Regions from separate parts of the Homo sapiens genome. Here all the other regions are linked to region 3. Evidence: promoter capture Hi-C in 16 types of primary human blood cells and fetal thymus (Javierre and others, 2016). All regions are on one chromosome and are shown on one strand. Each heading gives the region's core, a stretch centred on a gene start or on the middle of the fragment in contact. The rest is flanking DNA. Distances are from core to core; before and after follow the strand shown.

Region 1 (3,356 bases), core at 242-2,741, 750 kb before region 3:
CCACAAAACTGTTGTAATGACAAACCTGTTCCTTTACACTGAGCACTTAGGGAGATCCTTTTCATTGAGAGCAACAAAATACTTTGGCTCCCAAAAGTCATTAGGCATTTTTCCAAATTCAACTAATAATTTTTGGACCAAGGTTATCCTTGGAGCAGCAGATTTTAGCTAATAGATTACTAACATGCAGTTTTTTTGGTAGTTCTTTTCCTGGGTTCACCGAATGACCTTGGGAATGTTTTTCTCTTCTGTTTTTTAGTGTGCTCATTCTGAAGAAAACAGTTCTAGCAAGAGGGATTTGGGGAAAAGATAGCAAGGCATTGGATATACTACCAGTTCTATCTATGCGGCTATTGGCTATGTATGATAAAGTCTAGCAGAGGGTTATTTGCCCTACTCGAGTTACTGACCAGTTAATTTTCCCTAGAGAACTACCTGCTTTCCTACGCGTACTTAAGGAAGAGAATTTTAAAGCCAGTCTCTTCTCTGCCTCACGTCTTCTTTCATATCCAAAAGACTGGTTAGTACAAGGAAAGAAAAATGAATTTCCCCAAGTCTGGTCACAACTCACATGTTCTACTCTTTGAAATTAGGAAAGAAAACTGTTCTAGCTATATATGTTGATTTTATTATCCTTATAATTACAGAAGAGCGGTCAATTATGAGTTTGTTTCCTGTTCAGTTTGGCCTATTATACCAACTTCTATTATAGTGAAACCACTTTTTAAAAATACCTATGATATAGTTTTATGGTAATCATACTGACATCACTGGGATTACACTTAACCTCAATCAAAAGTAATCAGAATAACAGTCCTACTGGCATTGTGATTTGTTAAAGGATTTATGGTAAGCACAGCAGGAGTATCTTGAAATGATTTGTTCTTTTAATCTTTGAATACTGTATGTGATATTAAAAATGAATTTGGAAGCTTTTCTTTGACTTTAGAATTTAGTCCCTTGATGCCTATTAAACATTGCTTACATTTTTTTTATAAAACAGCTGGCTTTAATATTGCTCTATAATTTTAAGTATTTTAATTATTTAATGCAAGAAAGTTCCCATGAGATTTGTCGTAACATTAACGTTCCCACATTTCAATTTAAGAAAGAGAAAGAGGGAGCAGCTTGCCAAAAATTATATACTGCATTGCCAGCTGAGGGCTCCGAGTTTTAAATTGCAGATTGGTTTAATCTGTTTTGAGTCATGAATCGTAAAGAAACTTGAAGGACTTCTCGTGCAAAATCATGTATGCAAAGTATATCTTTAAGGCATTGTTTTTTGTATATGTGAATGTATCACCTGTTTAAAAGGCATGTTTTTGAACTTTGCTTATTTAATTTTTTTTTTTTAAGAGACAGGGTCTCACACTCTGTCACCCAGGCTTGAGTGCGGTGTCATGGTCTTAGCTCGCTGCATGCAGCTGAATTCCTGGGCTCAAGCAACCTTCTCACCTTAGTGCCCTGAACAGCTGAGACTACAGGTGCTCACCACCACGCCTGGCTCATTTTTAAAATATTTTATAGAGACAGGGTCTTGCTATGTTGCCCAGGCTGGTCTCAAACTCCTAGGCTCAACTGATCCTCCCACCTCGGCCCCCAAAGTGCTGGGATTAGAGGCAGGAGCCACCGTGCCCAGCCTACCTCTGCTTATTTTTTCTTTTTTCTTTTTTTTGAGACTGGGTCTCACTCTGTCGCATAGGCTGGAGTGCAGTAACACAATTATGGTTCACTGTAGCCTCCACCCTCTGAGCTCAGGTGATCCACCTCAGCCTCCCAGGTAGCTGAGACTACAGATGCATGCCACCATGCCCAGCTAAATTTCTTGTATATTTTGTAGAGACAGAGTTTTGCCATGTTCCCCAGCCTGGTCTCAAACTCCTGAGTTCAAACAATCCATCTTCCTCGGCCTCCCAAAGTGCTGGGATCACAGGCCTGAGACACCACACTCGGCCATCTTGGCTTATTTTTAGCAGGGTGGCACAGAGGAGCCAAACACAGACACTTCTCTTGCTGAGAAATTACAAAGAGATTTTCCCCGGAAGCTTTTGCACTCATGAAGATTTGGGTGACAGGGGCCGGTTGTTTATGTCTAAACAGATGAAACTGCTGGGCGAATGCAGTAGCAGTATAGACTCCGTGAAGAGACTGGAGCACAAACTGAAGGAGGAAGAGGAGAGCCTTCCTGGCTTTGTTAACCTGCATAGTACCGAAACCCAAACGGCTGGTGAGTGCGTAGCATCCAGTTCAAGAGTGAATGAAATAGAAGATCCTGAAGCACTTTGTTAACAGCGAAATTCCACTTAGGGGGCTTGGCCTTCTTCTACACCGTTCTATCCTGAGAACTTCCTTCCAAGTTATAACAGTCTCCTTTTTTGTTGTTTGTTTGTTTTTTGAGGCGGAGTGGCGCTCTGTCGCCCAGGCTGGAGTGCAGTGGCGCTATCTCGGCTCACTGCAAGTTCCGCCTCCCAGGTTCATGGCATTCTCCCGCCTCAGCCTCCCGAGTAGCTGGGACTACAGGCGCCCGCCACCACGCCCAGCTAAATTTTTTTGTATTTTTAGTAGAGGTGGGGTTTCACCGTGTTAGCCAGGATGGTCTCCATCTCCTGACCTCGTGATCCACCCGCCTCGGCCTCCCAAAGTGCTGGGATTACAGGCGTGAGCCACCACACCTGGCCAACAGTCTCCTTTGACAGTGAGGGGATGATGCATGCCATCATGGTAGTGTTTGCCCATGTTTCATTTATTATTATTATTTTTAATATTGAGATGAAGTCTCGCTGTGTTGCCCAAACTAGACTCCAACTCCTGGGCTCAAGTAATCCTCCCGCCTCCCCTCGAGTAGCTGGGATTACAGGCGCGCACTACCACCCCAGCTCTCATGTTCCAATTATTTTAATGCACTGTTTCTCACATATCTAATCAGGCATTTTATATGTGTGTGCTCAGAGCCCTATTGTAGACAGGATCCAAGAATTGAACGATCGTTCGTGCTCATGACTGCTTATTACTTCGTAAAGCTCTTTACAGTGTGAATGCCCATGTAACTAACTTTTTTGCTTCATTATTATTAGAAATACAAATAGAAAAAACACAGCCATTGTACCCATGTAACTGTTATTTCCAGATGACAACAACGAAAATGCCCAGTGGAATTACTTTTCTTTCTGTTGCTATTTAAAATTGGCTGCCAACCTATGTTTAAAGCATTTCATAAACATCACATGTAGAGGAAAATAACCTCACTGTTCTATGCATGTCTTGCCAGGTGTGATTGACCGATGGGAGCTTCTCCAGGCCCAGGCATTGAGCAAGGAGTTGAGGATGAAGCAGAACCTCCAGAAGTGGCAGCAGTT
Region 2 (3,698 bases), core at 386-2,885, 770 kb after region 3:
TGATATAACACAAAGTGTTGGCTGGCACAACCAAGCTGACCCCAGGTGTGGACAGAGCTCTCGGAGGAGGAAATGGTATTAGGGAGAAGTAAGGGAATCAGAGCCTCAAATATGAGTTGGATTCAAATGTGCATCTCTTACCTACAGCTCAAGGTTAACTGCAACTCACACAACAGTTCTGGACGCAACACGGTAAGACCAGGTAATGAACTGTAACGTGTTCAAGTCATAAGATGTTACCTTAGCAGAAAACAGACATCGAAGTAAACAGAACAAGATGTGTAGCACAAATGATGACAGATGTACATTTGGACAGCACTCATAACCATATATTCAAATAGGTCACTAATGGTCCGTGTTATTGCTCAATAACATCATCTACACTCATTTAGTATTTCCCAGTTTTCAAATTGCGGGCTTATAGTGTTTAAAGTGATTTGTGCCAGCCAGGCATGGTGGCTCACACCTGTAATCCTAGCACTTTGGGAGGCTAAGGCTGGAGGATCACTTGAGGTCAGGAGTTCAAGACTAGCCTGGCCAACATGGTGAAACCCCGACTCTACTAAAAATAGAAAAATTAGCTGGGTGTGGTGGCATAGGCCTGTAATTCCAGCTACTCGGGAAGCTGAGGCAGGAGAACCGCCTGAACCCAGGAGGTGGAGGTTGCAGTGAGCCGAGATTGTGCCACTGTATTCCAGCCTGGGCAACAGAGTGAGACTCCATCTCAAAAAAAAAAAAAAAAATTGATTTGTGCCACAAAAGCCCCTGAGGTGGTAAAACTAATAGGAACCCATGTGTCAAAAAGGGAAGCTGATATTCAGAGAGGTTGTGACTTTTATTATCTCCTAGCAAAGCAACAGCCCCAGAGTCTGACACTCTGGAACACGGCCTTCTTGCACAAATGCTGGACCCTCACCAACCATCATTCCTGTACATAATTATATCAAGTCCTACTACTTCTACTTGTCAGGCCCCACTCTAAGCACATTGCCAGTATTAATGACTCTTTGCAACAACTCCAGGAGTTTGTGACCATTATTAAATTCATTTTAAAGGTAGAAAACTGAGGCACAGAGAGACTAAAGTCAGGAACTTAGAGATTCAATCCAAGAGAGGCCAAAGGTTTTCCCTTGTTGTCAGAGGCAGGATAAATTGCATTGTTTTATTTCCTTCTTCAGGTTATGAACAACCAAGTTTTATTTGGGTGTTCCTAAGAGAGACTCTCTCCAATCTCAATTCATTCTCTCTCCCATTCTTCATGGCACTGATCATTTCTCATAATATCTGATGTTCCCTTGTTTGTAATGTCTCTTGTAGAGATTGCAAACCCCACGAGGGCAGAGCCTCCGTTCTGTCTCCCTTATATCCCAAATGCATGGTGCAACTGATTGATGCCTGGCACAAAACGGGTATAGAGATATTTGCTGAATGAACACACATATAGACATACAGTCCTCCTAACAGCAGAAATAGACCAATTTTTGAAAATAGGTAAGTCAAGTCAGTAAGATCTGGCAATTTAAAAGACAAGCAAAACAGAACACACAATTGGCTCTGTTTACCCTCCAGTTGGAATAAGTGGGTGTGGAGGGCCCGATGGCCATAGAGGGAGTGACAGTGTTTACATAGAGCCCTTCCCCTCTTGCACAAATACTGAAGGGGTCTGGGGGGACAAAGGACAGGCCAGGTTGCAGCAGCAATCTCTTCCCTGATCAAGACCCACTAGGTCTGGCCTGGGCACAGCCTGGAGTCAGCAGAGCTGAGGTGCTTCTGAGTAGCGGTGTCTTCCTTGGAGAGAAACGCTGTCAGGCCTCCCAGTATTCAGGGCTCCCTGCCCAGGGCCAGTGAAGGACTTTGGGAAATACAGGCTTAGAATTATTTCTAACAATCAAACCGAAATTGTTGTTTTTCTTTCCATTCACCCACACGAAAATCCCCTTTCAGATTAAAAACACAATAAAAGTTATAAAAAATATACACAAGAAAATAAACACAATAAAAATAAACACAAAGACAAAAAACAAAAATATGAAATGTGTAATGATTGTGTGATTGTGACCAAATAAACGATAATACATATACAGAAAATGCAGCATCATAAATGCTGGTGTTAATGAGATAACAAAAACGTGTGGAAACACTCTCCTTAATTCAAAACACACCTTTTAGGAAAAAGACATCAATTTATGCCCTCAAACTATAAGCAGTCAAGCAGTAAATGGGCTGTTGTCTAAAAGACCTGTCATCTCAGCCAAAACTGAGAGCTGGTTTTTACCATGTGCTCCTATGAGAAGTGGAGTAGCGCTATCCTAAGCCCTGGTCCCTGGAGCTGTGAAGAACATAATGTAGAAGGGTGAAAGAAAAAAGAACCTTTTTTCTTTTATGACTGGCTAAAGAAAGCATCCAGAAGCACACATTTTATTTTCTTTACCCCTGTACTTCCTCTCACTCCTGCTCCATAAAAGCTGCCTTATGTCTGCAAAAGCTCCCTGCTCCCAAACTGCCTTCTATGCCCTTCATCATCTGTTCCCTTGGTATGAAGCATCTCAGTGGGTATCAGGAATAAAGCAGTCAACACTCAATTAATTCAGATGAAACTGTGTCAGAAAAACATCTATGACCAGTTGTATGAGTTTCTATTGCCCTCCAAGGCAGCAGGAATTTGGAGTCACTGGTTTCCTGAGCTGGATGATGGACATCAGAAAGACACAAGGATGAAGAATGCTTTAAAAAGACTCTACAAGGCAGAAGAAGGGAGAATGAAAGAATGCAACAGCATTTATGGGGCAGAGGGCAGGGAGGTGCGGAGGTGGGAAAGGCGAACGCAGGCAGGGGTGCTAAAGTGCAAAGGAGACCACTGGAAGGAGAAACTGAGTGCAAAACTCAGATGACCTTTGAACGCCCTCCCCTAAACCCAAACGTCTCTAGCTCAAATGGATCTCTCGTTGAATTTTGAGAAAGGGCCATCATTTGAGTCAAATTGTCCAGGATCTGTTCCCAAAGTAAGTCTGAACTGTTTTTTCTTTTTCTTTTTTTAGAGACAGGATGTTACTCTATTGCCCAGGCTGGAGTGCGTGGTGCAATCACAGCTAACCACAGCCTTGACTTCCCGGGATCAAGCAATCCTCCAGTCTCAGCCTCTGGAGTAGCTGGAACTACAGATACTGCCACCATGCCCAAATAATTTAAAAAAAATTTTCTTTATAGAGACAGGGTCTTGCTATGCTGTCCAAGCTAGTCTCGAATGCCTGGTCTCAAGCTATCCTCCCCATCTTGACTTCCAAAAGTGTTGGGATTTTGAGCATCCAGCCTGTTTTTCCCTTTCCATCATTTCTTCCCTTTTATTTCTGTACCAACTCACAAGAGCCAGCTGTTAAATGTCAGAAATTTTGTAAGCCAGGTGTTGAAGCCATTATTAAAGAGTAAATAATATACATTTAAAATTAAATAAATCCTATTAAAAACAAAGGTATAATGCCCAAAACTCATCACTTCTTAATTATTTCCCTGCATTTTACTATCATCTATGCTCTTAGGGTTATTTACATCTATTGCATCTATGTGGTAGAGATACTAGACAAACGGTGCAATACTGCACATCTCTTCCCCACTCTGAATTTAATGTCACACTGGCAGCTTGATATCAGCCACAGTGGGAATATTTCCACACCATGGATATTGGCAAACATTACGAATCA
Region 3 (3,535 bases), core at 894-3,393:
CAAACTGTAGAAAGTATACAGTCTGTACAGCTCCCCTTATAATGCTATTACCTGATGATCCTGACTACAAGTTGGAATTATCTGCATACTTGGCAAAATTCAAGTGTGGCTGCCTATGCCTCGAGAGAATGAGCAGCAAACCAGCCCAGTCCTAAATTCGAATAGCAGCTCTTAAAGAGAATAGGATGCTCTTGATAGGCTTTCTTTAGGACTGATATTCAATTTCTGGGCTTACCCCTGGGTTTATTTCTACAAGCCTATATAGAGTGTAACGCTAGAAAATATTCAGTGATGTTAAAAATAAGCATAGTTACTTTGACTCAAGACCAATTACTCTACACACACAGGCAAATTTCTGCCCAATGGTCTCAAGTTTAGCATTAGTTTTGCCCACTTTTTCTTTTATTCTTAAGTCAGTTTCACTCTTCACATGAGCACTCCACCAACACCATAAGGTTGAAAATTTTCAGAATGGAATTCCAAAAGAATTAAGAACCTACAGATCTCTAATTACAATTCTCTACAAAACAATCAACATCATTTTAGTTCCCTAGTAAGATGAGACAGACCTCAATACTCAAGCCAATCCAAGGAACCAGGCACCAGTCTGAAGGCCAACTTTGATATTCCAGTGACAGCGGTGCAGTAGAATACTTAGATCAGGGTCAGAATTTGGTTTTGGAGGCAGACATTTACCCACTAAAGTCATTTATCTAGCTGATCAAAAAACAGGAAAGTTCAAAGCGAGTATACACTGAATCTATTATCCATTTGAGAGCCACTGAAGCTACACAGCTGCTTATTTTGTCTTCAAAGAAGGAATTAGTCATCAGTACCTGCAGGTATAACTGGATTTCTAAATCAAACTCAGATTTTTAGGAGGGACACTTCTATGTATTAAATTGTCTTAAGATGGTAAGCTTGCCTTAAATGATTTGTAAACTATGTGCCAGGCATTGTGCTAGTGGTCAGACTGTGTAAACCAAAATGGGTTAGACATCACAACCAAGTTAGCATGCCTTGAAACCAGAGTATCCTAGAAACTGCTGCCTCCACTTCCTTAGGAATAAAGCCATATCCTTTCTAAATCTCAAAAAATCCTAGATGTGTAAAGAAATCATTAAATTCTAGTCCTCAAAGGACTGTATTTCCCCAAAAAAGACACGGATTCTAGAAAAATGGCAACAACCAAAAAGTAAACTTTAAAATGTTAAAAATGACCATCAGGAAATTCTAACTTCCCTGCCATGTTTCCGTGTTTCAGGATCTCCCCGTTAAAAGATTTTCCACACCTCTAAATCTAACAGAATAGCCAACTCTGGAATCCATACCTCAAAGACCAAAACCTAACAGGAGAATAAACTGTTCTCTTAACAAACATGCGTTGCAGACTTTCATTTTTGGGGGGGCCAAAACTTCAAAAACGAAAATCGTTGCTGAAATAACCATGAAATTCAACCCTAACAGAAACATCTTACGCCGCTCAACTCATCTGCAAGGTAAAGGAAGCACCTCTGCCTCTGTGCACGCTACAGGAATCTGTACTTCAGCATGACTTTCAGTTACCATTGGTGACACAAAGATACTGCTGGTTTACAGTATCTCCCCGGTTCTAAAGGCCACTCCATTTCAAGTCTTAAAGATTAAAACAAACACGAAAAGTCAAGGGACAAGGGTAAAGGCCAAGAGATCTCAAGCAGAAGCCGGCAGAAGGATACGAGCAGTGGCTCTCCATCTCTACCCCGAGCATCTCAAGGACTTGTGCTACCTAAACACTTTATGTAAACAAGGGGCTTGTGACTCAGGCCTCCAGCCCCAATAGGTGGAGAGAAGTTTCCTCGCCTCGGCTGCACATGGTCTGCAGAAGTTTGGCTGGAGCAGAGCGCGGAGCCTGGGTGGGAGCGGCAGTGGAGTGCTGCAGGCGGCGGCGGCGGCGGCAGAGCAGCAGGAGGCGGAGGCGGGCGGGGGGAGGGGAGCGGCTGGGGGGGGGGCGGAGGGGGCTCTTGCCGCCACTGCTCTCTCGCCGCCTCTCCCCCCCGGCGGGAGCCGCTCGCAGCCTCTTTGCACTAGTCTCTCCGCTCTCTCGGTCATGTGACCTTAACGTAACCGGACAGGAAAAGCCCCGCCGCCGCCGCCGCCGCCGCGCCGGAGACACCGACCGCGGCGGCAGCAGCAGCAGCAGCAGCGAGAGGCAGAGGCGGCGGCGGCGGGGAGGACAGCACGGCCGAGGCTGCCCAGAGGCGCCTCCTCCACACCCCCCGCCGCAGCAGCACCGGCGACAGGTAAGCGCGCACCGCCTCCGCCTCCCGGGGCCGGTGCCCACGTGCCACCCCCAGCCCAGGGTCCGGGAAGGCGGTGGGGGGGCGGGGGCCACCGGAGCTCGCAAACGGTTCCGGCAGAGGCGGTGGCAACAAAGACGACGAATGACCCTCGTACCAGGGCTACGGGTGCAGGCAGGCGGAAGGCCCGGGCCACTCGGGGACCCGGTTCTGGGAAGCGAGGGCAGGGGCGCCTCGCGGGGGCGGCGGCGGCTGCGCCTGGCGCCGGGGCTCTGGCCGCTTGACAAAACCATCCCCCGGAGCCAGGCGGCGGCGAGTCGGCGGCGCCTCCATCCGGGGTTTTGTGGGAGGGGGAGGGGACGGAAGCCGAGAGGGCGGGCGGCGGATCGGAGGGAGGGTGGGAGGGAGGAAGGGGAGGGGGGCGATTCGCGTTCGGTTCCCCGTGGCCGGTCCCTCCCTTCCCGCCGCCACCGCGAAGTGCGCCCTGGGCGGCGGCGGCCGGTGAGCGTCCCGCGCTGGAGCCCTCAGAGGCGGGCCCGTCAGGTGCGTAATCCTTCCGACGCCTCGCCGCCGCCTCCTGCTGCTGCCGCCGCTGCTGCTTCGGCGGCAAGGCCGCGAGCTGCGGAAGTGGGTTTGGGGGAGGGGAGGGAGGAGGGAGGGGGAGGGGAGGGATCCGGTCCGACCGGAGCAGGCCCGGCCTCTCTGGCGCTTCTCCCAGCTGCAGCGGCTCCTACAGCTGCTGCCGCTACTGCTGCGGCTCCGCCTCCCGCTCGCGGGCGGGGGCGCGCACGCGCGCTTCCGGCCTCCTCGGGTCTCGCGCTGTCTCCGGCTCTCGCGCGCGCTCATCCCTCTCCCTCTCTCCCTGTCTGGGCCACCCCCGCCCCCGGCGCCGGGGCTGTTGCGCCGGCCGGGGCGTTGCGCACGGCGTAGGCGTCGGCATTGTGTTAAACTCCGCGGGACTTGGGGCGAGCGCGCGCGCGCACGCGGGACTGAGGGAAGCGGCGAGCGTGCAACGCGGCCGGAGTGCGTCGCCCCTCCCTCCCCCTCAGCCCCTCGGGGACGGGGACAGGGAGGGGGCGGGGCCGGCGAGACCGGAGGGGGCCAGAGGGCCCCGGCGCCGCGCCCCCGGCCCCGCCCCGGGGCGGGTGGGACGAGGTGGCTGTTGCGGCGCGCTCAGGCGGGCGGGGGACGCGTCGGCCTCTGTGGCGCCGCCCTTGTCGCCTGCTCGCTGAGGCTGCAGGCCGGGCCCCAGTCCC
Region 4 (3,742 bases), core at 730-3,229, 790 kb after region 3:
CCGGGCGGCGCTCGCAGGTCGGGCGGGGAGGGTGCGGGCTGCGCTGCGCCGGCTCGGGCTGCCGGAGCGCCCTGCAGCCGCCGTCGGGCTCGGGCTCGGGCTCAGGCTCGGGCTCCGACTTCCTCTTCCTCGGGCTCGGCCCCACTGCTCGGCCGCGCCCCGGCCCGCCCCTCCCCGCGCCCAGACGCCAGCTTCGGCGGCCGGAGCAGTGGATCGCTCGTCCCGCCTCCCCTCTGCCCTGAGGGTGAAAAAGGTGGAGAGGAGGGGGGCGAAGAGAAAGAGAAATTAGGCACTTGGCCTTGTCTCTGGAGCCTTGCCAAAGAGAACAGTCAAATTACAGCTTCGGGGGGAATAAAGTTTTTTTTTTTTTTAATTCTGCTACTGTTTTCGCAGACACATCACTTTTTTTCATTTTCCTAGCTCTTCAGGTTTAGCTTTCCTTTGGACGTAATAATTTCCTATGTGAGTCCTTTAAAATAATACCCAAAATCATGGTTTTAGTGAACATTCTAGTTTTACATAGAAGCTTTGCCGGTAATCAAGTGAAAAGAGGGGGAAGCCCGGTGTTCTTCAGGCGTCATTACCCTAATCACCTCGGTTAAAGCACCAAACGACCTTTGCCTAGAGAAAGTAAAAGTGGAAACGGAGGTAAAGAATAACCGGTGACAGCCAGAGAGATGTTTAAAGGCACCGGCTCTGCAGTAAAGTTATGACTCCAATCAAAGGTGCCTGCAGCGACAGTTAAAGGCATGTGAAGTCATTTCTTAACACTAATCTCCCGCCAAAGTCGGACGTATCAGGGTCGCCTGTGGACCCCCTTAGGTTTGGTGGTGGATTTGATTGCACTCTTAGTTGTTAACAGACCTTCAGCCTTACCACTTGCTAGCTGTGTGGCCTTGAGAGAACGCTTTAACCTCTCTGTGTTCTGTCTGTTTCCTCATCTGTAAAATGGAGATGATGATGATGATGATGATGATAGTGCCTACCTCATAGAGTTGCTGTATGTGATTTAAATAAGAGAATGTGCGTGAAGGGCTTAGGAGACTGTCTGGCACATGCTCTACAGCCTGAATAAATGTTAGCTATTCTTGTTGATTTTTGCCTTTTATCTGCTTTTATGCATATACATGATTATGGAAATTATCATAAAGACTGGGAACAAAACAAGGTTTGTGCAGTAAGGCTACACAGCATCACAGTTCTCTACCACGTGGAGTTTATGTTCTGTTTTATAATTTGAGTCTCCACAACTGACTTGTATTACCTAAAACTATGGGACTGGGTTATGCTTGGAATACATTTACCACGGTAGATTTGCAATGGGACTAAAACAGACATTTGCCATCTTCAAAGCATTGTTTCAGTTGGCCTTGCGATAACCTTGTGAGGTTGACAGGACAGGTGCTAGTCGCCTTTCACAGACAGGAAACTGAGCTTAATTAAGACCCTGCCCAGCTTCTGGAGCTCACACAAAATCATGCCTGTTACCCCATCTCTCTATGTTGTGATTTGTGTTAGAAGTGTGCAGTATGTTTGTGAAATAGTACCACATTAATGGTTTCCATCAACCCTGTGAGGTAGGTGCCAGCCTTTATTTGACACTCAAAGCATCTAGGATTCAAAGAAGCTCATTGATGAGTGTGTCTGTGGCTGAGAGATAAGGGTTTCCGACAACTTGGAAAGGAAGGGAGGAGAATTGGGGATTCCTGTTCTCTGCTGTCTCCTCTTTTATTGATTGATTGATTGAGACGGGATCTCGCTCTGTTACCCAGGCTGGAGTGCGGTGGCACCAATCATAGCTCATTGTAGCCTGGAACTCCTGGGCTCAAGAAATCCTCTGGCCTCAGCCTCCTGGGTTGCTGGAACTACAGGTATGCACCACCATGCCGGGCTTACTTACCATTTTTTTTTTGTAGAGACCGGGGTCACGCTATGTTACCCAGGCTGGCCTCGAACTTCTGGCCTCAGGCAATCCTCCAGCCTCTGCCTCCCAAAACACTGGGATTACAGGAGTGAGCCACCATGCCTGGCCTCAGTTATGCATTTCTTAGCACAAGTGCTTCGAATGAAGCTGTGGATGAAGCACTATGATCTGATGAAAAGACTGGATCAGCTGCAGATGCTGCTGCTCAAGAGCACTCACCCTTAGGCAGATAGCTCTTCTGAATTTGGTACTGTGCTTATGGGATGGTTATAATATTTCCTGGCCAGCCCGCTCACTTCACCTCAGTTTATTAATGAGGTGGGAGGTAGAAAGTGGAAACAGGAACAAGAAATTTCTTTTGTTGAGACTGTATGCCAAGTATAGCACTAAGCACCTAAGTCCTGTGATCATTCCTGATTTCCAGGCAAATGAACTCTGCCCTTTAGATCTTTAGAATTTGAGCTCCTTGAAATCACCTGGCCTGACACATTGTGGGTCTGGTTTGTGTGTCCAGCACTTAGTTCAGCTCCTAACACACAATAGGTATACGATATTCAGTGTGTGGATTGTTGGATGGATGAACGGACAACATAAGAGTTGTGAAGATGCTGTAGCATTCTGTTAGTAAGAGTCTACTCTTCCACTTTAAGGAAAAGGACCCAATGGAATGGCTTTCTAATGGTGCATCCAGCATTGGGAAAATTCTTTTGGCGAGTGGTCTTTCTAATACTGCTCTATCAGTCAATGTCAAACAAAGGGAACAGAACCCAGTTCAAGTATTTATAAAAGAGGGACTTTAATGCAGGAAATTGGCTCTACAAGTGATGGAAGAATCAAGAATCCAAAAAGAGACAGTGAGGCAGCCCAGAAATTAACAGCAACAGAAAGTCACTACCACTCCTAGACAGAGGAATTCAGAAGACACAGCCTGAAGGAGTGTTCCCCCACCCATCCCCATAACCCTGTGATTCTGAGTGATTCTCTTCACAAGAAGAGGCTGAGGGCAACAGGCCCAGGCTTAGCCCACCCTCAAATTATACCTTTTCCTTCTCAAGTAAAAGTGGGTCTATCAATTAGATTTCTGTAGAAGAGAAGTTCTTGCTTTTTAAGATGACTGAACGTCCTAAGTGATGGGCTGATGGTGAAACAAACCACCATGGCACACATTTACCTATGTAACAAACCTGTACAACTTTTACTTTAAAAAGATTATTAAATGCCTCTTATGGTGTCTTATTTCTTCCTCGTACAGATTCAGTAAAGTAGATACTATAATCCCTGAATTATGCATAAGGTCACAGCTATTCAGGAAAGTTTGGTGACTTGCTCAAGGCCACACAGCTATGCGAGGCAGAGCAGAATGCAGACAGCTCTGCCTTCCGGTTCTTCTCATCTCACGAACTCAGCTGTTTGTCCTGAAAGGCAGCACAATTGCACAGTTTTGTGCAGTATCATATTTCAGGGTCACCAATCCACGCACATATGGGAGCTAATGTTTGCAAAGCTTACAGAGTTAAAAGGCTCGATCACACCCTGCCTTAACTTTATGACATATGGTGATAACTTTTATGATGCGAATAGTGACTATACTAAATTTATTATTACACAAGATCAGAAATATGTCCACTGGATTGTAGGAGAACTTGAGGGACAAAAAACAGGTAGCATTTATCCCTTTTCTGGCAGGGGATGGGGAAGCTATTTCAATTTCAAATTTGGATGTGTGAGGCTTAAAAAATACTCTCTAGAATGTCCTGAACTTATTAGAGGGATTAGGGTAAGAGAAGGGACTCACGTAGGAAAAAGTCTCACGTAGGG
Region 5 (3,315 bases), core at 141-2,640, 730 kb before region 3:
ACGGACAATCTAGATGTTTCTGCAAAATAAATCTGTTACATACTGCCAGTGTTAGCCGAAAAGTAACAAAATAAATTAGAAGTTTCTTCTCATTTGGCTTTAAATGATGCATGCACGAAATTAACTCATTTTCATTTCCTTGATTATAAACAATTTTCAAAGTGAGTCATACCCTATGTGCATGGCATTCAGACTTCTCACAATTGTGTGTCCTACACACTTTCTTTTGAAGGGTGTGATTTTAGCCACTACTCCCTCCCTGCCATTCTCCTTATCCCGCAATTGTCTAGGTATTTTGGGACAGAGATGAAGCAACTCCTGGGCAGCTATTTACCTGGAAATTTGAAGGAGTGAGGGAAGTGAGAAAAATAAATAAAAATTTACTTGTAGCAAATAAGCACGTTTTTTGCTGGACAGAACTATCTGATATATCTGTATTGATGATGTTCCTTAAGGAGGCTCACACATTTAATTTTTCCTATATAAACACAATCTAAACTGGCATCCATGTATGTAATAAGACCAGAGGAGAATGACCAGTGGGTAGTCAACAAGTTGCCTTTGTTCTTTCCCTTATGAAATTTCCCAAGACTCTAGAAACTTAGGTGATTTTTAGCACAGTAGCTAAATATTAAAAATAACCCTTTCCCTGGGACCATTAGCTTCTTGATACTAAAATCGCTAGAACAAGTTCCCCCTGAAGATGAGGCAGCTTTGGGCATGTTGAAACTCTGGTAATTACCCCAAGGGGACAGGCATTTTCCCAGTGGATAGTTCGGATATTTTCAAGGGCAGCCAGCTGCACGGACAGTCACTGAATATTGTGTGTTCTCTCTGTCCCCATCTCAGCCCATGACTTCTTCCTAGCTTGGCGTTCTTCAGCATTAGAAGTCATGCACAAATTAAATTTTAATAAAAAATGCTCTGATGCTGTTAAATGTGCCATGTCCTTCAACAGACTCCAACATAGGAGTCCACATTCTGTAAATGGTGACATTTTTATCAAAAATGGGCAAGTAAATTAGTCTCTCTGGCCTTCAGTTTTCTCATTTGCAAAGATGAGGGGTGCATTAATATCCTAAAATTATTTTGGCTGTCATGATTTATGATTCAATGGTTTGCCATTTTTCTCAGGAGTGAACAGGTCAATGGGCAGCCCTTGTTTTGATCTTGATCTTTGACCTAATTGCACAAAGAATTTAACAGTTGACAAACAGGAGCTATTCAGCTCTGTCAGATTGTACTATCAATTATATATGTAAATCTTCCCATCACTAAAGTTCTTAAATGTCTCCTAATGAAAATTAGTCAGGTATTTAATAACTAGGAATTGTGGGAGCTCTCTTCAGTCACTCTGTTATAACTCATCTAGCTACAGGTGTTGAGTGTTGGTTGCCAGGGCATATTTTAAAGTCAGGGGAAGGATGTTTTGAAGAAAATTTGATCCAAAGTTTGTGGGTAGCTATCCTATCCTTCTTAAGACACTTTAAGGCAAACCATTGAATCATTGCAAATGAGAAAACTGAAGGCCAGAGAGACTAATTTACTTGCCCATGGTCATGTAACTGCCTCAAAACAAAATGTCCCCACGTCCACACACGGATTTGATGATCTGCAGGATACTGTGAGGCCTTATGACCAGAGGCTTTAGACACGAGGAAACCACTTGTTTCCAAATATTTTAGGATGCAAGTTCAGGATTCTCTTCTTTGCTTCTACATGTGAGATACCTGTGAAATGAATACGACCTGAATTACCATTACCATTATTCCTATCACCAACCAGCAAAACATTTCACAGCAGAGAGTGCGGTGGGCAGGGATTTTGGAAGCCTGAGTCCCTGCTAGGCCTCTTCCTTTAACTGTAGAATCTGAAGCAAGTCATTCAGCCTGTCTAGAGTCTCCAGGTTCTGGTAGTTAAAATCACAGGGTTGAAATCTTCTGCCACTGGCTGTGTGAGCTTGAGCCAGTTATTTCACTTCCCTGAGCTTTCTTTCACATCATCTGTAAAATGAAGTTAATAAGTACACACCGCAGAGGACTGCTGTGGGGATTAAATGACAGAACCCAACATAAATGCTCAGAGTGCTGCCTAGCAATTAGAAGAGTAAACATGAACTGTCCTTAGCTACTCCCCTACAAAATTAGGAGATGAACTGGATGCTCTCTAAGGCCCTGTCTCAACATGAATATTTTATGCTCAGGTAACTCAAGAAGTTTCTATTTTCCTTTTCCATTAATAAGGTATATGACATACTTCTTTTATGTTCTACTATATTTTCACAAAATATACTTTTTTTTTCCCTCAGCTTATTAGGAATAACTCATTGGTCTTAGCACAAGGGCAGTTAATCAGTTTGACCACTAGATGGTGATTGAGCTCTTGTGGCTTCTTGGGAGATTATTTATACTGACAAATCAGTAGAAGACAAAAACATCGAACAGTAAACTTTAAAGTTAGAAGACCATCTATGCTAATTTGAAGAGGTTAGTGAAGAGGTTGACACCTAGAGATGAAGTGAGTTGTTCAAGGTTACATTACCCTGCCGTTACTTGTGTGGATTTCAGAAAAGAACATGCTTCCAATTTAAACCAGTGATTTGATTTTTCCTTACACCACAAGAAGTGTATAGAAACACTGCGTGCTGCCTGTTTCTTGGGGTTTCTGCAGAACCAATATCTGTTTTTGAGATAGAGTCTCGCTCTGTTGCCCAGGATGGAGTGCAGTGGTGTTCCGATCATGGCTCACTGCAGCCTCCGCCTCCCGGGTTCAAGCGATTCTCCTGCCTCAGCCTCCCAAGTGACTGGGACTACAGGCACACGCCACCAGGCCTGACTAATTTTTGTATTTTTACCATGTTGGCCAGGCTGGCTTGAACTCCTGGCCTCAAGTGATCCGCCAACCTCAGCCTCCCAAAGCGCTGGGATTACAGGCGGGAGCCACTGTGCCCAGCCCTCTCCCATTTTTCTTTGATGGTTTAATAAAAGAGTTTTGAATACTCCCTCTGTTCCCTTCTAAGGGGATTCTATCTGTTTTTAACATTTATTTTCTTAGGTGTCACTCCGCATCCCCCACCGATATTAGGGTAGTCTGTCTTCAGAAATTAATAGGTAATAGGTGAGCTACAAACATAGTGCTTTCTTCTGGACCAAACCTACAGTTACCAATACAGCTTTCACACGCTCATATTATTTCAGTAGCCTCACATACAATGTCCTTATCCTTGGTGATATTAAAACTCTTAAGGAATTTATACTAGTTGTGAGGGAGTGTTTCTTTTGGCTACATCTTTTATTTTTGTTCATTCAATGTTGT
Region 6 (3,575 bases), core at 48-2,547, 820 kb before region 3:
AGAATGCAGAATCTGAACCGCCATTGGTCTCTGATCTCCTCTCAGACTACAGAAAGATTCAGGTAGAGTAAACAAGAGATGTCTTGGTTGCTCCAGTTGTCTTAGTCTGGTTTGTGCCGCTATGTCAAAATACTACAGAATGCATAATTTATAAAGAACAGAAATGTTGAACAGTCTCACAGTTCTGGAGACTGGGAAGTCCGCAGTCAAGGTGCTAGCAGATTCAGTTGTCTGGTGAGGGCTGCTCTCTGCTTTCAAGAGGGCAGGTTTTGCTGCATCCTCAGGAGGGGAGAGTTGCTGTGTCCTCACACAGTGGAAGGCAGAAGGACAACAGTGCTGAACGCTGTGTGAATCTTCTTTTAAAAGACCCTTAATCCCATTGACAAAGGAGGAGTCCTCATGGCCTAATCACCGTGTAAAGGCTCTGCCTCAGAATACTACCAACATTCACCACGAAGTTTCATCACCTGAATTATGGAAGGGATACATTCACACCATAGCACCAATGTATCAATAGAATATAAGCTCATGACTTGTGTATGTTTATAAATTCTGATCTTTCCCATAACACTGACAAAATTTGAACTAAAAGTGGGAAATTCAAATTGTAAAGTCGTTTCTCATGTTTAGTGTACTAAATAGCACTTTAATCAGAAAACTCTTTTAAGTGAGAATATATTAAAAGTATATACATAATTTTTATCATTTTAAAAGAGGTACATTTTAAACTTCTACATTTTTTCAACTTTCTTTCTTCTTTTTTTTTTTTTTTTTGAGACGGAGTTTCATTCTTGTCACCCAGGCTGGAGTGCAAAGGCACAATCTCGGCTCACTGCAATGTTGGGTTCAAGCAATTCTCCTGTCTCAGCATCCCAAGTAGCTGGGATTACAGTCACACACCACCACACCCGGCTAATTTTTGTATTTTTAGTAGAGATGGGGTTTCACCATGTTGACCAGGCTGGTCTACAACTCCTGACCTCAGGTGATCTGTCCACCTCAGTCTCCCAAAGTGTTGGGATTACAGGCGTGAGCCACTGCAACTGGCCTCTTTCTTCTTTTTTAAAATAATTTTACCACCTGACATGAAAGCTTTGTGGTGGTTCAATTAGAATTGAGCACAGAGATTATTTAATCTAGTTTTATATGCTAGAGAAGTAAGAATAAGCAGTGAAATAACCATTGTTCCTTGCCCTTTGTTCTTTCAGCAAGTTGCAGTCATTTTTGCTACAACATCAGACTTTCTTGGAAAAATGTGAAACATGGATGGAATTCCTAGTTCAGACAGAACAAAAGTTAGCAGTAGAGATTTCAGGAAATTATCAGCACCTTTTGGAACAGCAGAGAGCACACGAGGTAAGTTGTATCAGTAGATTTGGGGGTAATAAGAAATTTTTAGGCCCTTAGAAGATGCTACGAAATGCTGTGTGGGAGAATTAAAATCATGCCCTTTGCACGAGTGTCTAAATGCATGCATCATTTTGCCTTCTTTCTTAAGCTTGAGGTTTTGATAACTTAATTATAAAAATGTAGTCCTATTCGCTGCTCCATGATTGTTTATAAGCACGTGTCAATCTTCAGTTCCTTGTAAAGTATAATGCCAGAATTGTGGTTAAAGGCTACTTACTCGAGACAGGCAAAGTTGGTGGAACGTGTATAGATAGTTAGACAATTTTCAAACTGGGTTAGAGACTACTTTAATATGCCAAGGACAATTGCTTAAGAGACTATGCTTTGATCAAAAGTCTTTAAAAATTTTGTGATCTTCAAAGAGCGTATATGAATTTTATACCAGGAAATCAATCTATCAAATGTCTCCAGGTGTACCTCTTGATTAAATTGCATTATAATTATTTCTTAAGAAACAAAGAGGGAGAAGAACTATATACACAAAGTAAATTAATAAATTTGCCCACTGTTAATCCTTATGTTGCTATTTACCGGTATAACTAAGTCAGTTTGTGTATTTATGAATGATATGCACATGGAGAGATAGGTCTTACCTAAGAGAAAAGAAAAACTTAATTCAGAATTTTTTAAATAGAAAATTTAAAGATATCTAAGGTATTTTTAAATCCAGTTTTGTTGAATTGACAGATGATGAAATAATAGAAAAAAGACTACAATGAGATTGCATCTCACACCCACAAGGATGACTATAATGAAAAAATAACAAATTTTGGTGAGGGTGTAAAGGAATTGGAACCCTAATACATTGCTGATGGGAATGTAAAATGGTGAAGCTGCTTTGGAAAACAGTTAACATAGAGTTACCATATAGAGTTACGTAGAGTAATCATATAACCCAGAAATTCCACTCCTAGGTATATACTCAGGATAAATGAAAATATGTGTCCACACAAAAACTTGTGTAAGTACATTATTTATAGGAGCATTAGTCATAATAGCCAAAAGGTGGAGACAACCCAAATGTCCATCAACTGATAAATGGATAAATAAAATGTGAAATGTCTATATAATAGAATACTATTTGCAATAAAAAGGAATAAGGTACTGATATATGTTGCAACATGTATGAACCTTGGAAACATTATGCCAAGGGAAAGAAACCAGTCACAAAAGACTACATATCGCAAGATTCCATTTACAAGAAATGTCCAGAGTAAGTAATTCATAGAGACATAAAATAGATGAGTGGTTGCTGAAGGCTGGAGGATTGGGAAGAAATGGGGAATGATTGCTAATGAGGATGGACTTTCTTTTTGGGGCAATGAAAATTCTAAAATTGATTGTGGTAATGATTGTAAAGTCTGTAAATATAATAAACACCACTAAATTGAACATTTTAAATGAGTGAATTGTATGGTATGTGAATTGTTACTCAATAAAGTTGTTTAAAAAACAGTAGAAATAATTCGAAGGACCTTCTCTTGAGTTTTTTAAAATAGTGAAATAAATTTATTAAAATTTATTAATTTTAAAATTTAAAACTTAAAAACAGTGAGTTTTAAAAGACAGAAAAAGACTAGGCTATTTTTTTTCTTTGACTTCTTTAACGGTCCTAAGCTATTCTCTAAGTTTTGAATATGGACCATATTTTATATACAAAATAAACCAGAAAACAAATTGTGCATTAACTTACTTTATTAGGTGTTTTTGAAAGAAAGAAGAGAAATATAATTCTACTTTTGGTCATCTAGTTTTAGTAAACCAAACACTAAACTTTATCTTTGAGTGTATCTTAATTGATGATTTAAAAATAAATGATTCCTAAACTGCAGGATTTCACACATTTTCTGGTTCAGCTGGTGATAGCTTTCATAGTCTTGCGAAAACTAGAATATTTGGAAAGTTATCAGAGAACCGATCACTAAAATTAGGAACTCTAAAGTATGTTCTTCTTTTTTTTAAATTATAGTTGTTTCAAGCCGAGATGTTCAGTCGTCAGCAGATTTTGCACTCAATCATTATTGATGGGCAACGTCTTCTAGAACAAGGTCAAGTTGATGACAGGTAGGATCTTTGATAAATTATTACAAAGAAAGGTTCCAGTAAATTAGTCATTTTCTTTTTAATGAGCAGATTGGAGGGCATATATCCAATCTTCCTGAGGC
Region 7 (3,495 bases), core at 150-2,649, 770 kb before region 3:
AAGGAGACCCTGGTAGCCGTGCAGCAGCTTGATAAGAACATGAGCAGCCTGAGGACCTGGCTCGCTCACATCGAGTCAGAGCTGGCCAAGCCAATAGTCTACGATTCCTGTAACTCGGAAGAAATACAGAGAAAGCTTAATGAGCAGCAGGTAAGACTTAAAATGGAAATGGAATTAATAAGCCATGGAATATCTGTCCTCCTGGCCAGGATGATGGGGTGGGCATGAGATGGTGCCTGGAGATGGAAGGTCAGCAGGGAGCTAGGCAGGACTGGTGAGGAAGGGGGCTTTGCCTAGGCAGGCGATTGAGGCCAACAGGTTCCATGTCACTGCAGAGTTCAGCCTTACAAAGATGGTTGTGCCATTGTACAGTTAGTGTCATCCATCCACCAAGAAGCCTTCTAAGATGGTAGGTAAGGTGGAGTTGCAATTACGTATCTAAAACAGTGCTAACAGATTGGTTTATTTATTTGAGAGTCACTAGCCCTAGCCCACTACCATACACTTAGACAGGACTGAAAGGAGCCCCCCTGCCCCCGACTTTTTTTCCTGTGTATAGTGTTTGGGGAAAGATTACAAGGCATACTTAGAATTTTTCAAGTTGAAAAAATTTTGTTTTGCAAAAAGGATTGCATGACCTGCAGATCGCACACAGTAATTCCACTTTCATGTGTGTAGCAAAGACAGAATATCTCACTGGCGGCGTACAACCCAACAAAGCAAAAAGGGATGATCCTGGAAAATGTATACAGAAGAAATTTTCACCTCCCATTCCCTCCCTCATTTATTCTTTCTTTTTTTTTTTTTTTTTCCTGAGACAGAGTCTCACTCTGTTGCCCAGGCTGGAGTGTAGTAGTGCGATCTCAGCTCACTGCAACCTCCACTTCCCAGGTTTAAGCGATTCTCCTGCCTCAGCCTCCCAAGTAGCTGAGATTACAGGCATGCACCACCATGCCTGGCTAATTTTTGTATTGTTAATAGAGACGGAGTTTCGCCATGATGGCCAAGCTGGTCTCAAACTCCTGACCTCAAGTGATCTGCCCACCCTCGGCCTCACAAAGTGCTGGGATTACAGGCGTGAGCCACTGTGCCAGGCCCCCTCATTTATCCTTGCTAAGTATATCGGACTCCAGTTGCCAATAGCAAACACTGTAAATCCCCCGCTAGAGGTATTGTTACTCCATGCATTTAGGTTGCTTTGAATATTCTATCCACACTCTGGTTCTCTCCATTACATTTAGGCCATTGCAGCAAAGTTGCTTAATTTTAAAATGCTATAAAATGTAAATACCTCCTATTTTTAAAATCTTATAGTTTATGTACTTACTTCATTTTACAGACTATTTAAGCCAATGAAATAGGTGTCAAAATACAGTTTTGGGTGTTGAGGTTTTTTTAATATTAAAATTATCATTAAAATTTTTTTCTTTCTAATGAATATATAGTAATTGTACATATGTGTGGGGTACAACGTGGTGCTTCAATGCATATTTTCATAGTGTAATAATCAAACAAACTGAGGTAATTTGATTACCATATCTATCACTTTAAACATTTATCATTTCTTACAATACTCAAAATCTTCTCTTCTAGCTATCTTGAAACATACACTATATTCCATTGCTTTAAAAAAACTGTTAGCAAGACGTTTTTCAATTTTTATGAAATTAAAGTTTTCTGATGGGTGGTGATGTTTGAGATTCTGATGATTGAATTGTAGGGATCCTGGTTGGCATCCGGCTTCCCAGATTCTTCCAGAGAACATGGTAATGATGTCTATAGTGATGAGTTGAAATGCAAATGGCGGGTATCGTAATTTCACAAGTGTATGAAAATCAACAAAATATCTAGTTAAATATGGCAAATTGATCATATGTATTTATAGCCCCACCTACTACTAAAACCCCAATAAAATGATGGTAGAGAGGGAAAAAGGTTAAAACCACAATGGCAAAGAGAACAGGAGAGAAAATGGTAGAGATGACAGACATCCAACATAATTTTGCAAGATAGAAAGTGGATAGATCAGTGATGTTGTTAACAGAATGGAGGGTGGAGAAAGTTGATTCATGCCACAGAGTTCGAAGAAGGCTCAGAAAGTGGAGATCAGGTGAAGCTGAAAGTTGAGTTGCCTATTGAGCTGTAAAATGGAAGATTACTTGAAAATCTGAATAAGGTGTGCTGAGACTGGCAGATTCCTCCTAAGCCCAGCCAGCCAGGGAACTCTGCTTCCTTTACTCAGGTAGAAGATCAGATGATTACTCTCTGGAGAAAGCAAACCAGAGGGACTCTGGGTTTGGGGATCAGGACACCGTGGAGGCTAGAGTCACTATGTTAAAAATGGGGAGATGATGTGACTGGCTCAATACCAAATGCTAGGGCTCCCAGCCCGCTTCCCCAGCTTGGCTCCCACTATGTCAGTACCCAGGCTTACACCCTAGCCAGGAGATTGGAGCATCCTTTCTGGAGAACTGATCAGACAAGCAAAAAGTACCTTCAATTAGTGATACTTAAGGTAACCCAGAAAAGGCCAGACCCCTGCCTAACTCTCCACAGGGAAGCCTCCCAGTTGACATACTTTAGGTGCATACACAGCTTCTATAGCTGACTCATTCTTGAATATGTGTGGGTAGGCAAGAATCCTCACCACTTAAGAAAGCTTCTACCATTAAGAAAAAAAAATAAATAGAGGGAAATAAAGAAAGGAACAATCAGAGGAAACACATTGTAGAGAAAGAAAATGTAAACAAAACAAAACAAACAAACTCACAGAAATGAGAGGTTTTGCATTCATAAAATGATAGGATGCCATTTTTCTTTAAAAAAAGCATTCAGAATGGAGACTATCTTCCACAGAGTAAAACAAAAAGATAAATATATGAAAAATAGGAGAGAAATATAGACATAAACATAATAAAATTAACAATAATGCCAGAGTTTCAAAATCCAATTCAGTTATTTTGTAAAAGTCCCCTGCTAAAAAAAAATAAAGAAAATAGAGAGGAGAAAATTACCATAGTAGTAATGTAATATATATATTTATTATTAAATAATATATGTTTATTATGAAATAAATAATGTAGTAATGTAAAAATATATTTTATATATTTATTATTAAATATATATTTATATTTTTGTTACATTACTACGATGTTAATTTTCTCCTCTCCATTTTCTTTATTCTTTTTTGGGGGGACTTTTATAAAATAACTGAATTGGATTTTGAAACTCTCGCATTATTGTTAATTTTATTATGTTTATGTCTATATTTCTCTCCTATTTTTCATATATTTATCTTTTTGTTTACTTTGTGGAAGATTACACGTATATGTGTACACACATTACACATATGTGTGTGTATATATATTCATATATATATCTAAAATGAAAAACATGCATTTGCAGATGATAAGGGCTGTATGAGTGCCCAGGAAAATGTAAAACAAAGCAAAGCCACACTGTAAAACTGCAAAACACAAGGGATAAGGAGATCCT

The links. The method cuts DNA at HindIII sites, captures the fragments that hold promoters and counts their contacts. A CHiCAGO score of 5 or more calls a contact.
Region 1: a contact is called between a fragment that was not itself captured here and the fragment with the promoter of ZBTB2 in region 3, in 3 of 17 cell types (naive CD4 T cells, total CD4 T cells and activated CD4 T cells). The highest score is 8.5, in naive CD4 T cells.
Region 2: a fragment that was not itself captured here is called in contact with the fragment with the promoter of ZBTB2 in region 3 in 1 of 17 cell types (fetal thymus); the score reaches 7.2 in fetal thymus.
Region 4: a fragment that was not itself captured here is called in contact with the fragment with the promoter of ZBTB2 in region 3 in 1 of 17 cell types (fetal thymus); the score reaches 8.2 in fetal thymus.
Region 5: a fragment that was not itself captured here is called in contact with the fragment with the promoter of ZBTB2 in region 3 in 4 of 17 cell types (naive CD4 T cells, total CD4 T cells, naive CD8 T cells and 1 more); the score reaches 8.8 in naive CD4 T cells.
Region 6: a contact is called between a fragment that was not itself captured here and the fragment with the promoter of ZBTB2 in region 3, in 3 of 17 cell types (non-activated CD4 T cells, naive CD4 T cells and total CD4 T cells). The highest score is 6.5, in non-activated CD4 T cells.
Region 7: a fragment that was not itself captured here is called in contact with the fragment with the promoter of ZBTB2 in region 3 in 5 of 17 cell types (non-activated CD4 T cells, total CD4 T cells, naive CD8 T cells and 2 more); the score reaches 17.1 in non-activated CD4 T cells.

What each region holds. Positions count from the first base shown.
Region 1 is chr6:152,140,074-152,143,429 of GRCh38, reverse strand. SYNE1 (spectrin repeat containing nuclear envelope protein 1) reads left to right here. Exons shown (of 146, transcript NM_182961.4): 139 at 2,101-2,227; 140 at 3,269-3,356. Among named protein-coding and RNA genes, the nearest start is that of SYNE1-AS1, 240 kb to the left of the region's middle. The HindIII fragment of the contact is 1,113 bases long and covers 935-2,047 here.
Region 2 is chr6:150,618,421-150,622,118 of GRCh38, reverse strand. All of the region lies in intron 1 of PLEKHG1 (pleckstrin homology and RhoGEF domain containing G1), which reads right to left. Among named protein-coding and RNA genes, the nearest start is that of PLEKHG1, 20 kb to the right of the region's middle. The HindIII fragment of the contact is 5,144 bases long and covers 1-3,698 here.
Region 3 is chr6:151,390,167-151,393,701 of GRCh38, reverse strand. ZBTB2 (zinc finger and BTB domain containing 2) reads left to right here and starts at 2,143. Exons shown (of 3, transcript NM_020861.3): 1 at 2,143-2,282. LOC124901232 (translation initiation factor IF-2-like) reads right to left here. Exons shown (of 3, transcript XM_047419613.1): 2 at 3,230-3,535; 3 at 1-2,997. The coding sequence ends at 2,098. RefSeq lists an enhancer at 1,258-2,130 and silencers at 2,112-2,171, 2,182-2,571, 2,652-3,535. The HindIII fragment of the contact is 3,903 bases long and covers 923-3,535 here.
Region 4 is chr6:150,596,252-150,599,993 of GRCh38, reverse strand. PLEKHG1 (pleckstrin homology and RhoGEF domain containing G1) reads right to left here and starts at 109. Exons shown (of 17, transcript NM_001029884.3): 1 at 1-109. RefSeq lists silencers at 1-291, 87-381, 562-621. The HindIII fragment of the contact is 2,902 bases long and covers 529-3,430 here.
Region 5 is chr6:152,123,681-152,126,995 of GRCh38, reverse strand. The region is part of intron 145 of SYNE1 (spectrin repeat containing nuclear envelope protein 1); the gene reads left to right. It also overlaps a transcript of ESR1 not described here. Among named protein-coding and RNA genes, the nearest start is that of SYNE1-AS1, 260 kb to the left of the region's middle. The HindIII fragment of the contact is 4,815 bases long and covers 1-3,315 here.
Region 6 is chr6:152,211,393-152,214,967 of GRCh38, reverse strand. SYNE1 (spectrin repeat containing nuclear envelope protein 1) reads left to right here. Exons shown (of 146, transcript NM_182961.4): 122 at 1-62; 123 at 1,209-1,356; 124 at 3,380-3,474. Among named protein-coding and RNA genes, the nearest start is that of SYNE1-AS1, 170 kb to the left of the region's middle. The HindIII fragment of the contact is 406 bases long and covers 1,095-1,500 here.
Region 7 is chr6:152,160,818-152,164,312 of GRCh38, reverse strand. It overlaps SYNE1 (spectrin repeat containing nuclear envelope protein 1), which reads left to right. Exons shown (of 146, transcript NM_182961.4): 131 at 1-150. Among named protein-coding and RNA genes, the nearest start is that of SYNE1-AS1, 220 kb to the left of the region's middle. The HindIII fragment of the contact is 2,524 bases long and covers 138-2,661 here.